Regions from separate parts of the Homo sapiens genome. Here regions 1 and 2 are each linked to region 3. Evidence: promoter capture Hi-C in 16 types of primary human blood cells and fetal thymus (Javierre and others, 2016). All regions are on one chromosome and are shown on one strand. The core of a region is centred on a gene start or on the middle of the fragment in contact, and the rest is flanking DNA. Distances in the headings are between cores, read along the strand shown.

Region 1 (4,821 bases), core at 590-3,089, 1.2 Mb before region 3:
TCCCAAAGTGCTGGGATAACAGTCGTGAGCCACCGCACCCGGCCTATAGTTTTAAAACTTCATAAAAATAGCATCCTACTACATTAATGATTCTAAAGGTTTTTTTTACACACAGATTTGTGAAAATCTTCCATGTTTAAAAGTGAGCTCTAATTCACTCATTTTTCACTGCTATACAATATTCTGTCATATGAATGTATTTGCCTGTTCACCTACTGATGGATATCTAGGCTGCCTCTAAATTTTGTTACAAAAAATACTGTTACATTCATTCTCGTGCTTGTCTCCTTGTACATACACGTTAGGAGTTTAAGTTGTGTGCTTTCTGAGTGAGAAGGTATACACAACTTAAACTTAGTAAATTCTGTCAAATTGTTCTCTAGAGCATATAATTTACATTCCTATTTAAGTGAATTCTATTAAATGCCACTGTTTAAAAGAGATATTCCATTTCTACCCTCAAAAGCAAAGTTTTATGAAGAAATATTTTCTGAATCTCTTAGTTCTCTAACTCCAAGTTTACTTCTATTTAAATCCGTGGAATATTTTAAATGTTAAAAAAAGAAAAGAAAAAAAAAAGCCAGGCGTGGTACCAGTAGTTCCAGCTACTCTGGAGCCTGAGGCGGGAGGATCACTTGAGCCCAGAAATTTGAGGCTGCAGTGAGCTAAAATCACCACTGCACTCCAGCCTGGGAGACTGAGAGAGACTCTGTCTAAAAAAAATTTAAAAAATAAAAAAATTAAAAATCCCAGAAGTAATCCAATCAATAATCTACAGCCCTTTCAAAAAGCCTATAATCATATCAGGTTTTTCCTCTGAAAACTGGCTTTTTAAAAAGGTTGCTACATAGCTCTCTTTTCAGACCTTAAGTCCTTTAAATTTACATGTACCTCCAAGATTACCACCATTCATATAAGTTTTTATTCACACTATTTTGATGAGTAAGTTTCAGACACAATTTAGTGGCCAGTTTTACTGTGCTTTGTCTGCCAAAACTTCCAACCTAAACCATAGCAAATTTTTTAAGTTGGCCAATCGATTCCTATCCAGGGTTAAGGGTCTTTTGAGAGAAAAGAAGAGCTCTTGGACGTAAACAGGTATAAACAGGATATACCTCAGAGAAAAACTCTGGTACAGGACAAATACCACAGAGAAAAGAGTTTAAAATATGGGGAACCCCTACTTGAAGTTCTGACTCAATAAAACTGCAAAGAAGTTCAATGCTGGCTTGGGGAGAAGTGAGAAAGAAAGAACAGTGTGGTGCGCTGGCTCTTGAATCCTACACACCTGCTCGTGCAGGGGGAGGTGCAGCCCCCACCTTAGAGCCGGGACCTCGAACGCGAACGCGCTCACGCGCGCACCGACCCCAGTTGCCGGCCTAGCGCCAGGGCAGTGCCTCACCTGCGTTCCGGTTCCACGGGGCGGTGCTTGTCCACGATGACCGGTTTCGGCGGCGGTTGGAACGCACCGGGCTCGGAAGGCCCAGTGCTCTGCTGCCGGACAGGCCCCGCGTGGACCCCTGCGGGAGCGGACGACGGAGGTCAGAACTCTCGTGCCAACCCTGAGATCCCGCAGAGCCCCGCAATCTCCCCCAACCCGGCGTCCCACGGGGGACCAACGCTGGGGTTGCCTCTGATCTCCAGGTTCGCCTCCCCCATCCTGACCCTGGGCCCCTAACGCGCCCCAGCTCGCAAGTCCGGCTCCACTTACTGCAGGCGATAGAGGCCGGCGGGGGGAGCAGAGTCCTGGCGGCTTGGAAACTCCGGCCTAGGCCCATTGCAGCCCAGTGCCCCGCTGCAATGCAGGCCGCCATGCCAGCTAGCTCACGTCAAGACTACAGCTCCCAGTAATCAGTGCGACGAGGTTGTTGCTGTCTGCCACCATATGGCGGCTGCTATGGGACAAAATGGATAAGTCTCTCCTCGCTCCTTTCCTGATGTCTTAGGAAAAGTGCACGTTTCTCTAGTTCCTCGTAATGCGCCAAGTTACACCCCTCCACAGGGGTGTTCTCCCAGCCTAGAAAGCTTTTTCCTCCCCCTATGAATCCACTCTATCTTCTCAGACAAGCTTTCGCTATGCGAAAATCCCATTGTAGGCCGTCTTTCCCACTGGGTGCCTTCGATTGGCAGCTCTGATCTCATTTGCAATTCTTTCTTGTGTAATTATTAGATTAGTATTTAAATCTGCCATTATACTATAATGAGGCAAGGGAAGGGATAAAGTCTTCTTTTTGCTCACCATGTTATCCCAGCACCTAGCACCTACCTGGGCCCTCACTAACATCTTTTGTTTTGTTGAGACAAGGTCTTCCTCTGTTACCCAGGCTGGAGTGCAGTGGCGCGATCATGGCTCTGCAGCCTCCAACTCCTGATGTCAGGAGATCCTCTCACCTCAGCCTCCCGAGTAGCCAAGACTACAGTCTCGCACCATCACGCCCAGCTAATTTTTCTAATTCTTTGCTGAATGCACAGAAAAGAGAATAGAATAGTTCCTGACAGAACTGCTGGCCCATAGTCCTTGAGACTACACAAAGCATTAACCCTTTGAGGAACCCAAATGAATTTGGGCTGGGCAACTGTGGGTATGGATAGGTGGGAGAAGTAAAGCTGGAAAAGGTAAATTGTAAGTCTTGTTAAGAAATTTGGAAAATGACTGGGCGTGGCCAGGCATGCCTGTAATCCCAGCACTGTGGGAGGCCGAGACAGGAGGGTCCCTTGAGCTCATGAGTTGGAAACCAGCCTGGGCAATATAGTGAGACCGTATCTCTAAGAAACAAACACACAGCCGGGCGCAGTGGCTCACGCCTTTAACCCCAGCATTTTGGGAGGCCGAGGCGGGCAGATCGCCTGAGGTCAGGAGTTTGAGACTAGCCTGGCCAACATAGTGAAACCCCGTTTCTACCAAAAATAAAAAAAATGATCCAGGTGTGGTGGCAGGCTCCTGTAATCCCAGCTACTTGGGAGGCTAAGGCAGGAGAATCGCTTGAACCTGGGAGACAGAGGTTGCAGTGAGCCGAGATCGCGCCATTGCAACAAGAGCGAAACTCCGTCTCAAAAAAACAGAAAAAGAAACACACACAAAAAAAGAAATTTGGAATTTGTTATTTCAGCAGTGGTTATATAAGGATTGAACACTTAGAGTAATGTGATAATTTAACTACATAATAGTCATTCCAGTTGCATTAATGTCCCAAAGCTACCTCAAATTCAGCCTATCCATACTGAGTTCATCTTTTTCAGCTCCAGACTTCCTTCCCAGTATTGGCTATCTCAAGGAATGGCTTCAGCATCCACTCTCTTGCCTAAGCCAAAAATCTCAGTGCCATTCTTGATTCCTCCCTGTCTCCTCCTGGATGAAGTTCCAAAAACTATGCCTGACACCGTCAAATATCTCAGGAATCCATATACTTTCTCATCCTCCCATCCATATTTCCAATCTAGGTCAACATATTTTCTCTCTTCAGGATCCCTGGAGATCCCTGCAACAGCCTTCTCATTAGTCTTCTTGCCTCTGGTTACCTCCAGTCCTTCACGCAGCAACCAAAAAAAGATGGCTCAGAAATGCATACCCTGTTCTTTCCTTTCCCCAGTTTAAAGCCTTACTGTTTACTTTTGACAGAAGTCAAATGCTCATAAAAGCAACCAACCTCTGCAGCTTGGCCTCTATACTCTGACTTGCCATCCTGAAGAACATGAGCTGTTACATCAGCCTGAGGAACAGGGCCATGTTTTGAGCACAGAATTCAAGATGCTGTGAAGAAAGACAGGGCCTTCTATTTTAACTCTAGCTTCTTTGATTAGAACAAGAATTTATTCTATAAATGACAAGGAATCTCACAACCAAAATTTCAGATGAGCAATATTTTGGCTCTTCTACCTACCCGAAAAAGTAGACTTCAAGCCCTTAAGAGTAAAAGGGAGGAGAGGCAAAGATAATCATGACTGGCAGTGGTGAAGATTTTTCTGTATTAACCATGCCCAGAACACGTGGCCTTCACTCTTGCTGGGATTGGTCCTAAAGGTAGGGGCAGAGAAATAAAAGACAGACCTTCACAGGAGGACAGCAGGATTTACTAGACATTGCCAAGCCACTCCTGCTGCCCTCTCCTCTTCCACAGATGAAGGAATAGTTGTGTAGAGTTTTACAAAATTGGAAGAATGAACCTAAAGAATCTTATCTAATTTTCTCCCGTATTCTTGCTCATCCAACATATATCAGGCCGTTTTGACCTTATCTTAATTTGGAGAACAAGCTGGAGTTTAAATTATTCCAACTTAAGTTGTTATTAAACAACTTCATAGAGCAAAATCAAAGAGCACAGAGCTGGCTCAACCATTTTATGAGCTGATCACAGGAATAGAACTTTAATTATTTACTTCTGTGTTTTACACCCTTGGAAAGGAGATCATGAACATCATTACATAATGTTCAGCCAAGGGAAGAAAGTATTCCAGGCAAACTGGCTGCTTCAGGTTATTGTGACATCAGGATCCTTGTCGGTTTTGCTTGTTATTACATCCTCTATATTTAGTAGAGTATCTGGCACCCAATAAATATTTCTAAGTAAAATTAGATAGATCATTCTGATTGTACTTTAGAAAATGGCTGGGAAGCAGGAAATTATTGAAATATTCCAAAAGAGAGATGGTGCTAACCTGGAACAGAAAAAAAAAAAATGGTTCTTAAAGTGTGAGCCCTTGACTAGCAACATCAGCACAACCAGGGAACGTGTTAAAATTACAAATTCTCAGGTCCCGCCCCCAGACTTACTGAATTTAAAACTCTGGGCACAGAACCCAGTGATCTGTGCTTTAGCAAAT
Region 2 (4,931 bases), core at 2,019-4,518, 1.4 Mb after region 3:
AAGCCTGTGTGGTCTGGGCCAGTCTCTGCCATGTCCTGAGTCTGCTTCAGTCTGGAGCTGTTTGTGGGGCGAGTGCCATGTGGACAGTGGTGGATGATGTGTGTGCTTCAGGCTGCTCCCTGACCCCTCTGACCTTTCCACGAGTGTCACATGGGAATGTGTGGGGCGCAGGGGCGGGTGCGGAGAGAGCACCTTTTTGCTTTTCGAGCTCTTGACCACCTCCAATGTGTAGGTCCCTCCAGGCTGGGGCTTGGGACTGCTTATGATTTGGGGATCAAGCCTCCATGTCTATTCTTGTTGCCTGTCCAGATGCCAAAACTCTGTGTTGCTGCAGGGTTTGAACTTTTGGAAACCAATTAAAATGTGCCTTTGGTGGGCGGGGTCAAGAGCCCCTGGATGTCGACCTCTCCCGCTGTGTGGCGTCCCCCTCCCACCTGTTGAATACATAGGGATGGCTCTCTCAGGGCCCTGGGAATGGGAATGGACAGCACTGCTGTGGGCTGTTCCCCTCCCCTAAAGTTAATCTCTTGGTCTGGCCAAGTTGCTGCTCCCTCAACCTTCCTGCTGTCTTCCCCTCCCTCAACCCCAATAGGAGGATCCCAGGATAAACACTGCTGGGCAGGCGGGCAGGCAGGCCTGGGGCTGCCCTGCTCACTCTCATTGTCTGGCCTCAGGACTTAGCCATACTAGACCAGTCAGCTTGCCTGGAAGAGGGAGGTCCCACTATGCCTTTGGGAGACACCTATACTTAGGAAAAAGCCTTTGTTGTCCTCCCATCCATCCATTAAGCTGCTATCTCAGCCTGTCCCTTCTGCCCCAGGGGCTTGCCTGGCTTGGCTGCAGTGCACTTTGAAATGAAGTATCTGTCCTTTGGCCCAGCCCCTGGTTTGCTTGTAGAAAACATGGTAGGCTTCCCCAAGGCATCTGCAGGGAACTTTGGCAGCTTGGGGCACCCTGAATTAGCAAAAATGGGGGGTGATGAGGTGCTGAAGAAGGATACTTAACAGCTTAGTGAGGAGGCAAGAGCTCCTCTGGGACCACCACTTCTTCAGGAGAGGGCCTGTGGGCTTGCTTTTGGAAGGCCTCAGGCAGACACGTGCCCTCTGGGTGATGTCTGTCTGCTGCCAGGATGGAGCAGAGGAGCGCCACACATGGAGGAAAGCCCCTGTAACGTTACCTACCTTAAACTCCACTCATCAAATCTGAGAAAAGTATCCACTGGTCCCCAGGGTTTCAGTCATGCTTTTGGGGGTCATTGGGTATTAGAGAAGTAAGTATCTTTTCTGAGAGAGGGGGAGTCACCCCCCCTACTGGGGATTCCTCTGGGCTTTATTCACTCCCAGCCCTGGCCCTGACCTTTGTGGGCCTCCCTAATGCCCAGGGCATGGATGGCTTCAGAGGAGTTTTTGAATCGAAGCCCAGGGTCCTTGTTGATGTTTCTTCTCCTAGCCACACTTGGAGGAAAGTTGCAGGTGGGTTGGGCAGGGAGCAGGCATGGTTCTGCTTTGCTGTTTGTCTTCCTAGTTAAGGCTCTTTATAAAGAGCTTGTTCTTCATGTTTTAAGCACTTTATGAAGAATAAAACATTCATGTACTGCAGGTGGCTCTGTTGTGTTCCTGTTTTGGAATGAACAGTTACAGGAGGCTGCTGTGGGAGAAAGCACCTTAAATCAAGGTGATGGGATTCTTGGATGACACTGTCCCTGCCCCTTATAAGGGGGCAGCAGCACAGTGTTGCCCAGCAGCCTGAACTTAGTCTTTTCTGACTCCCAGGGTACCCACATTTATTGCGCACCTAAGATGGGCCCATTTATTGGTAATACAGAGGGTAAGAAATGGATTCCTATTCTCAAGTTGCATGGTCTAGCAGGGGAAGATAAGATACAAATCCAAGATACAAATAGTTCTTCATGGCTAGATAGAATCTCTAAGATAAGATACAAATCCAAGATACAAATTGTTCTTCGTGGCTAGCTAGAATCTCCCCCTAGCTTTATGAAAAGTGTTTCTTGTGGTTCAACTACTAGAGGATGAAAAACTTTGACTGCTACAGCTCATGTAGTGTCCAGAAACACTGGCAGACATGAGCCAACCCTGCACTCCACCACGAGACTAATGAGACCCAAAGTGGAGTTCCCTAGAAGACCAAATATTTCTACTGTCATCTTGGGCAAAACAGGCAGCTCCCGAAGTCTGGCTCACTGACCAGGTAATTCAGCTGGGAATCTTCAGCTAATCCATTCTACAACTGTATGTGTTTATTATCCATACTGATCCTTACTCCACAATCTGTAATACTCCCCCTTACCTAACACCCTCCCCACCCACCCTAGTCCCAAGTTCTCCTCCTGCCCAGGAATTAGGCCCAGGAGGGATCTTCCTTGGTTGGCCAGACAAGGTGAAAGCTGCCAGGGCTCTTAATCCCCCACTGATGAACTCACAGCCAACACTTATTTGAGTCTCTACTGTGAGCCCTTTTATGTCTGGCTCTGAAAACTGAAGTGAATCAAAAAGTCATAGCCCCTGCCCTGTGAACTTTACAGTAAGAAAGACTGTCCAGAACAGTAAGTAGTTGTGAGTGCAAAAGAGAAGTGCTGGGTGCCACGGAGCCTCTGTGGGATTTTGTGCAAGCAGAGTGATGGACTGGGAAATGCAATGTTTAGGCTAAAGCCAGAAAGCCAGCATCAGGCGAAGATTTAGTCTTCCGGGTACAGAATGTTCAGGGGTCGGGAGGCGGGCAGGCCCCAGCATGCTCCAGGAACTGAGTGTCAGGGCAGCCGGAGAGCACAGGACGAGTGGGCAGGGTGGCGACGGAGGAAAGTACGAGAAGGTCCGCAGTGCAACTCCTTGGAGAAAGCCTTCCGAGGTTAACCCTACTCCGCCTGGAGTCTTTGCCCATCTGGTCCCAGGTTCCCCCTTGAATGGGACCCTTCTGCGCTGCCTGGCCCCAGGAGCGACGCCCACGGCAGCAACTCTAACTTCTGGGGGCAACTAAGCAGCGAGGGGTGGCCCGTGGTCGTCGTACAGGAACACCTTTCCTGGACTGCCGACCTTGCACCTTGCAACGCGGACAGCGGGCACCGAGACCTCTCCGGACGGCCGCAACTCTCCGCAGTCTACGGTTGTAAGCGCCGCGACGCGAAAAACTACACTCCCCACAACGCCTTGCGCCTCCCGCTCGCTGCGGTTGATTAGGGCCAATCGGGAGAGGCAGCTGTGGCGGGGGCCGAGGAGGGACATTTTAAAAGGGCCGGAGATTGCGGGCGTCAGTGGCCATGGCGGATACAGCGACTACAGCATCGGCGGCGGCGGCTAGTGCCGCTAGCGCCTCGAGCGATGCACCTCCTTTCCAACTGGGCAAACCCCGCTTCCAGCAGGTGAGGACCGGGCTGTGGTCTGCGGGCCGGCGGGTGGCAAAGAGAGGACGAGCAAACTCCCCTCCAAAGTCCCCTTCCGCCCAAGGGTCTCCCACCCGCGGCCAGCGGAGCCTGCAGCTAGCGCCAGGGGGGGAACCTCGGTCACAGTCACCCTTTTCCCATTGGTCAACGGGGCGGGCGCGGACTCCCATCTTGGCTTCCTATTGGCCCTTGGCGCCGTCACTCCCCGACTGCCCGCGCCCTCTAGCCTTTCCCGCCCGCGGCGCCCTGTGATTGGCCACCGGCGGCTGCGGTCAAGGTCCCGAGCGCCCGGCTTCGAGCGGCTGCTCAGGGTCGCTCCGGGTTGTGCAGCTGCCCGCCCGGGACGCAAAGTTCTAGTCTGGCCCTGGATGGGAAGTTGGCGTGGCCGGGATGCCTTCTAACTTTTTCCCCCGGTGGGGACTGACGTTCCTTTCGAGCTGCTGGCGGTGCCGCCGGGCAGCGTCGCGCCCCGCGGTCACTCCCCAGCCCTGGCCCCCAAGCCGGGCTCGGCGCGCGCAGCAGGTTGAGGGGGCGAGTGCCGAGGCGAGCGGCGGTCCGGCGTCCCCCGTCCCTGCTCTCCATCTCGGGCTGAGGATTCGCTGACGCAGCAAGCCGGCCGATGCCCTGAGGGGACGCAGCCAGGGCGTGCGGGGGAAACGCTGTGTCATCCCCTGGGGCCGTCGTCCCTCCGAGGGGCTGCCGCCTGGGAACCCCCCCCCAGCCTCTTCCTCGCTGTGTTCTCCGCGGAGGGTCTCCCGCGCCCGGGCCCCCGCGCCGCCGGGGACTGGCTCTGGGCACACCCGCTCAGGCTCTTCGGGGCACGGCGACAGGGGTCCTTTCCCTCCGGGACCTCCTCTGGGGCGTCGCCGACTCGGCCCTAGACTGCGGAGGCGGGGGTGGAACGCGGAGCCCGGGCGCCTGGTTGGGCCCGGAGACCGGAGCCGGGGAGGGGCCGCTCCCGCGCCGCAGACCCTCGGGCTCCCGCGCCTCCCGCACCAATGAGACGGAATTTATTAGGAAACAGGCAGAGAGACCGCTGAAGTGAACCGGGGCTTGCCAGGGGTGGGCGGCAGCCGAGGCGGCCAGAAAAGAACTTTGAAGGAAGAAAGGAAATTGTGCTAAGGTCGGTGCGGTGGCTTTTTTTTTCTTTTTTTGTTGTTGTGGTGGAAGGGGACTGGTTCCAGCAAGGGGGTGCCCCGAGCTTTGCTGATAATTAGGGAACTTGGCTCCTGAGCCGTCTGAAAAAAATGTCCCCAGTGTTTCTTAACAGGACTTTAATTCCTTTTAAAAGTAGGCCATCTCAGCATGTAGGTATCCGAGGCGAGACTGGCATCTTCCTTCCAGTGTAGGAGGCCATCTAGGGCGAGAGTGTCGGGGTGTCCCTGCCTGGACTTGAGTGACCTTATTACATTGCCTGTCCCCGCTCCCACCCCCATTCTGCTCGTTCTTAAAGGCTCAGTCGGGCCTGCCTCTCTGGCAAACACTTGCTCCCTTCTTCTCTGGTCCCATCAGATCGCAGGCTTCCTCCTGCACA
Region 3 (4,655 bases), core at 1,339-3,838:
GTGGGGGCGGGGACGCCAGGTGGGAAGGAAAGGGTGGAACCCTGTGCTCCGCTGCAGTAGCGCACCATGGGGGCCGGAGCCGCAGCCCGCCCTCCCCGCCGCTCGCCCCGTGCGCCCCCCCGGCCTCCCCGCCCACTGGTCGCCGCAGTCTTGGTGAGGCGCTCGATAGTCTGGTTCTTGTGCTCTTCTGCCCGCCGCGCCGCCTGGAGCCGCCGCTTCCGCGCCCGCTCCTCGCGCTTCAGCAGCATCTCCTCTGTGAGGGCGGGAGGTGGGCAGCCCTCAGCTACAGGCAGCGGCAGCATAGGGGAAGGTTGACTCCGCGCCTTCTGGAGCAGAGCTCGCTAGGGAGAGACAGAGACGGGGTGCTGTCTGAAAATGGAGGAAGATGGAGAGGCGAGGTCGGCCAGATCGGGGGAGGGGAAAGAAGGGACATGGAAGGCAGGGTCTTGAGCAGTGCAGGCCTTCGGAGGCGGGATATTAATTAATGAGCACCCTCTCCAGGACACCTTCCATAGGTTCCTCTTCATAAATACTGCCTCCTCCCAGATCTCCTGACATTTAGCTTTAGGTCCTTATCTCTCAAGGGGAGAAGCATCAGTAATGTTACCTGCCTGACCTGTGCACCAAAACTGTACCAGCTTTCCCAGAGGTCTGTTGTTATTTTTAATCTTATCTCAATAGAGAGTATCAGGTGGATAACTGCTCAAGCCAAAATCCCAGGCTTAGCCTTGATATATTTTCTCTCCATTCCCCTCCCCACAAGTATCTACTTCCAAAATATAGCCATAATTCATCTGATTTTCTCCATCTCCACCACTTTCGTCTTGGTTAAAGCAACCACTGCCTCTCAGCTGATTACTTCAACAGCTTCCTAGTTGTTCTCCATACTTCTATCTCTTGTCTCCACGAAGATTCATTCTCTACAAAGATGCCAAAGTAATCTATTGAAATGTAAACCAAGTATGTCACTTCTCTGCGTACAGCCCTTCAGTGGCTTGTCCACTTTTTCTTCTCCTTTGCTAGACATGTTCCAGTCTCAAGGTCTGTGCGCCTGCTGGTCTCTGCTCAAAAGCTCTTCTGGTATTGCAAATGTTATCTCTTCAAAGAAGCCTTCTCTAACTACCCTAATGTCTCTCTTCCATCATTTCTATCTGTTTGTTTACGCCACTTTCTATTTCATCACCCTTTTCTTTTTGTCATAAACCATATAGCTTTTTGAAATTATTTACTTATTTACTTCCCAGCCCCCCAACACACACACTAGAATACTAGCTCCAGGAGAACAGAAACTTTGTCTTTTCTCTACTATCGATATCCCCAATGCCACGCAAAGTGCGTGGGTCGTGGAGAGTTCTCAATACTGTATACATTTGGTGAGTGAATAAACAATGAACCAACATACCTGTCGAGCAGTAAGCAGCCGCTCATTGATCTCCTTCTTGAGGTCTCCATTGTCATCCAGCTCCCCCTTCTCCAGGGCATCCAGCCACCTCTGTTCCTCCTCTTCCTCCTGACCCCCTAACCCTCCTGATAGGTCCCGAAGTGGAGAGGGAGAGAGATTACTGTCTTCATCTGGGAAGGAAGTTGGAGAAAGAAAAACAGAATTGTTCAGATGGGGCACCCTAATTTGGCTGAGTTAATACTGGGACATGGAAAATCCTAACCCATTTCAGAACCAACCTTCTTTCTTTAGGCGGGTATAATAAGAAACCCAGTTTCCCCACCTCCAGATCCTCACCCAGCCAGGCACGGTACTGCTCAAGGGGGACTCCTTCCATAGGTTCCTCTTCATTATCCACAACCATAAGGGGAGAGGGTGAGCGAGGCCCCTCTGGGATCACAGTGAAGGTAGGAACACTGCAGAGAAGCAACACTACTCTTTAAAATGAGCAAGCGTCTCCTCCTCCTACTCCGTAGCTACACCCAACTTTCCCCACCCTCTTAGACTCTTGCTGCCTAAATCTGGACCCTGAAGTCACAGTGTCCATTCGGTCTTCTAGAAAGCCCAGTCGGCTTCTAACTACTATCTCTGCTCCTAAAGTTCCCCTTATAAAACTATGACCCTCTTGGCCTCACCTCTTGGTCCCCAGGACTTGTCCCCCAAGCTTGATTTTGAGTTTGAGCTGAGGCTTGGCAGGGGACGGCTGCGTGGGCCCGGCGTCTTCTTCCTGATGGTGTTTCTTCTTGTGTTTCTTCTTGTGCTTCTTGTGTTTTTTCTTGTGCACTCCATGGCCATGGGCACCCGCCAGGCTCAACTCCAGGGCTTCTCCTGTGGAAGGAAAGCCTGTCGACAGTGTTTGGCCGGAGGGTGGCAGGGGAAGCCCTGAATAACCTAAGCCCCTACTGGATCCCACCCTTCCCGCAGTACTCGCTGTTACCATAACAACAGCACCGCCTTTCTCCTTGCCACCTGTGGCCGAAGTACCCTGGACTCTCCGAGGAGCAAGAACGGGACTTCTTTTCTAACACGACCTAAATTGCTTGATCTATTCGCGCTTACCCGGCTCAGGGGCCTCCATAGCCCCAGAGGTGCTCCCACGCCGCCACAGCTTACTCATGAGGTCCTGCGAGGAAAGGGGACTAGAAATGGTTGGGACACACGCAGACACGCCTTTTCCGCCCCGCGGAAAAACTGGAGCCAGCAAAACAACCAGTTACTTCCGGTTCATGGCAACCATCCTTGTGCGGGGCACGCTTCGCGTCCAAAATCGTCCCTGAGAAACGAGGATCCTTCCAACGAACGTTCCGGTCCCTCTGAGGTCGGGACAGCCCAAATGGGCAGGGCTTTCCCCTGGCTCCGCCTCCCCACGCTAGCTTTCAGAACTCAGCGCGGATGAGTCAATTATTGAACACAAGTTTGGTGAATGTATACACTAGACCAAGTGCGGGAAGCTAGTCTAAGAGGATGCAAAGATGAATATGAACACCGCCCCTGTCCTTGAGGAACTCACAGTTGGGTGGAGGAATACATAAACTATATTGATGACAAAATGGCCGAAATGGTTAAACAGCACGAGTGCCCTAAGAGCAGATGCAGTTTAGGTATTTAAACTTCAATTTTCATAAGTAGGGAAATGAATAAATGAATTACGGTGCAGCTGTACAATGCGGAACACCATATTGCTAAGAAAAGTTGAGTTGTAAGTAATTAATGAGATTGACACAGAATTTAAACAATCTAAGTGTCCTGATGAATTGGTGTATCCATACAGTGGGATGTTAAGCAGCTTGGAAAAGAAATGAGGCGCCCCAGAAGGCTATCTAGGAAATTGGTAAGAGTCATTTGCTGATGAGCATCTAGAGAACAAGGGTGGATGGCGACCTATTTTTTTATGATTATACCCTCTTGTGCCTTTTGAATTTTGTATAAAACGTGTATATTTTACCTCATTTTAAAAAAGACATAAAAACAGGTAGGTTTGTATGTGCTGATACACGAAATAAGAAAAGTAAATTTCCCATCCTGGCTAATACGATGAAACCCCGTCTCTACTAAAAATACAAAAAAAAAAAAAAAAATTAGCCGGCGTGATGGCACGCGCCTGTAGTCCCAGCTACTCGGGAGGCTGAGGCAGGAGAATCGCTTGAACCCGGGAGGTGGAGGTCGCAGTGAGCCGAGATCGCGCCACTGCACTCCAGCCTGGTCGACAGAGCGGGACTCCGTCTCAAAAAAAAGAAAAAAAAAAAAAAGTAAATTTCAAGATTATGTGATCTGATTTTTAAAAGCATAATATACTAGCAAATACATAGAAAAAATTGAGGAATGTATACCTGTTAATGTTGGTTAACTGTAGAAGTTGGGGTTGAGGAACTTTCACTATTTAGGTATGTAATGTATTTTCTTACAGCCAATATATATCACGTTTATAATTAGAAAATAACACCTATATACATATATCTAAATATATATGAGTGTCTGAGCAAGGTAACAGCAGTGAAAAGTCTCTTACATTTCAGTGATAAAATTATCAAGAATCAATGAGCAATTATATTGGGGAATCCAGGATTAAGTCATGTAGTATGTGATTATGAAAAGGGATTTTGGAGTCAGACAAGCCTATTATCAAATCCCAGTTTCACCATTTATTAGCTATGCAACCTTGGGCCTAAAATTATTTAAGCTCTCTGAACCTGAGAATCCAGCTCTATAAGATGGAATACAGTAGGATCCACCGCTATGAGGGCTCTTTCAAGGAATAAAGGAAATCAAGAACTCATGATACTTAGGGTGGCAGCAGGCACAGGCACAGGCACATAGTAGATGCTTCAGTAAGCAAATAATAATAACTGACTCATAGGTTTCTAGCCTAAGTATTTAGCGGGAAGGTGGTATTTTCAGTAAGGAAGATAACATAGGAAGAGAAGCAAGTTAAGAAGGGAATTATTTAGTTTTGCCCAAGGCGACTTTGAAGTGCCTGTGGGAATGCCTGGGTGGAGGTGGAATAGCTGAGAGGAGAAACCAAGGATGAAAGTGTGAGTGGGGATGTCATCAGCGTAATACTGGAGGCCCCCAAGTGATGGGAGTAGATGAGACACCCAGAAAGAGTAAGTAGATAAGAGGAAAAGAACCAGGAACAGAACCAAGTGAGCACCTGTCCTGCACAGCCAGGCAGAGGGGCCAGACAGGGTTGAGAAGGTCAGGAAAGGCAGAAAGT

Evidence for each region. The method cuts DNA at HindIII sites, captures the fragments that hold promoters and counts their contacts. A CHiCAGO score of 5 or more calls a contact.
Region 1: the fragment with the promoter of MRPL19 here is called in contact with the fragment with the promoter of INO80B in region 3 in 7 of 17 cell types (naive B cells, naive CD8 T cells, monocytes and 4 more); the score reaches 7.8 in naive B cells.
Region 2: the fragment with the promoter of SFXN5 here is called in contact with the fragment with the promoter of INO80B in region 3 in 1 of 17 cell types (neutrophils); the score reaches 7.9 in neutrophils.

The regions. Positions count from the first base shown.
Region 1 is chr2:75,643,801-75,648,621 of GRCh38, reverse strand. MRPL19 (mitochondrial ribosomal protein L19) reads right to left here and starts at 1,839. Exons shown (of 6, transcript NM_014763.4): 1 at 1,712-1,839; 2 at 1,403-1,520. The coding sequence starts at 1,814. RefSeq lists enhancers at 1,610-1,909, 1,745-2,039. The HindIII fragment of the contact is 2,636 bases long and covers 1-2,027 here.
Region 2 is chr2:73,070,049-73,074,979 of GRCh38, reverse strand. It overlaps SFXN5 (sideroflexin 5), which reads left to right and starts at 3,268. Exons shown (of 14, transcript NM_144579.3): 1 at 3,268-3,376. The coding sequence starts at 3,275. RAB11FIP5 (RAB11 family interacting protein 5) reads left to right here. Exons shown (of 6, transcript NM_001371272.1): 6 at 1-1,598. RefSeq lists enhancers at 2,670-3,149, 3,350-3,399 and a silencer at 3,540-4,329. The HindIII fragment of the contact is 14,604 bases long and covers 1-4,931 here.
Region 3 is chr2:74,453,020-74,457,674 of GRCh38, reverse strand. It overlaps INO80B (INO80 complex subunit B), which reads right to left and starts at 2,588. Exons shown (of 5, transcript NM_031288.4): 1 at 2,501-2,588; 2 at 2,077-2,269; 3 at 1,739-1,857; 4 at 1,403-1,572; 5 at 1-341. The coding sequence starts at 2,558. INO80B-WBP1 (INO80B-WBP1 readthrough (NMD candidate)) reads right to left here and starts at 2,652. Exons shown (of 8, transcript NR_037849.1): 1 at 2,501-2,652; 2 at 2,077-2,269; 3 at 1,739-1,857; 4 at 1,403-1,572; 5 at 1-341. RefSeq lists a silencer at 1-224 and enhancers at 365-434, 2,485-3,074. The HindIII fragment of the contact is 3,309 bases long and covers 2,108-4,655 here.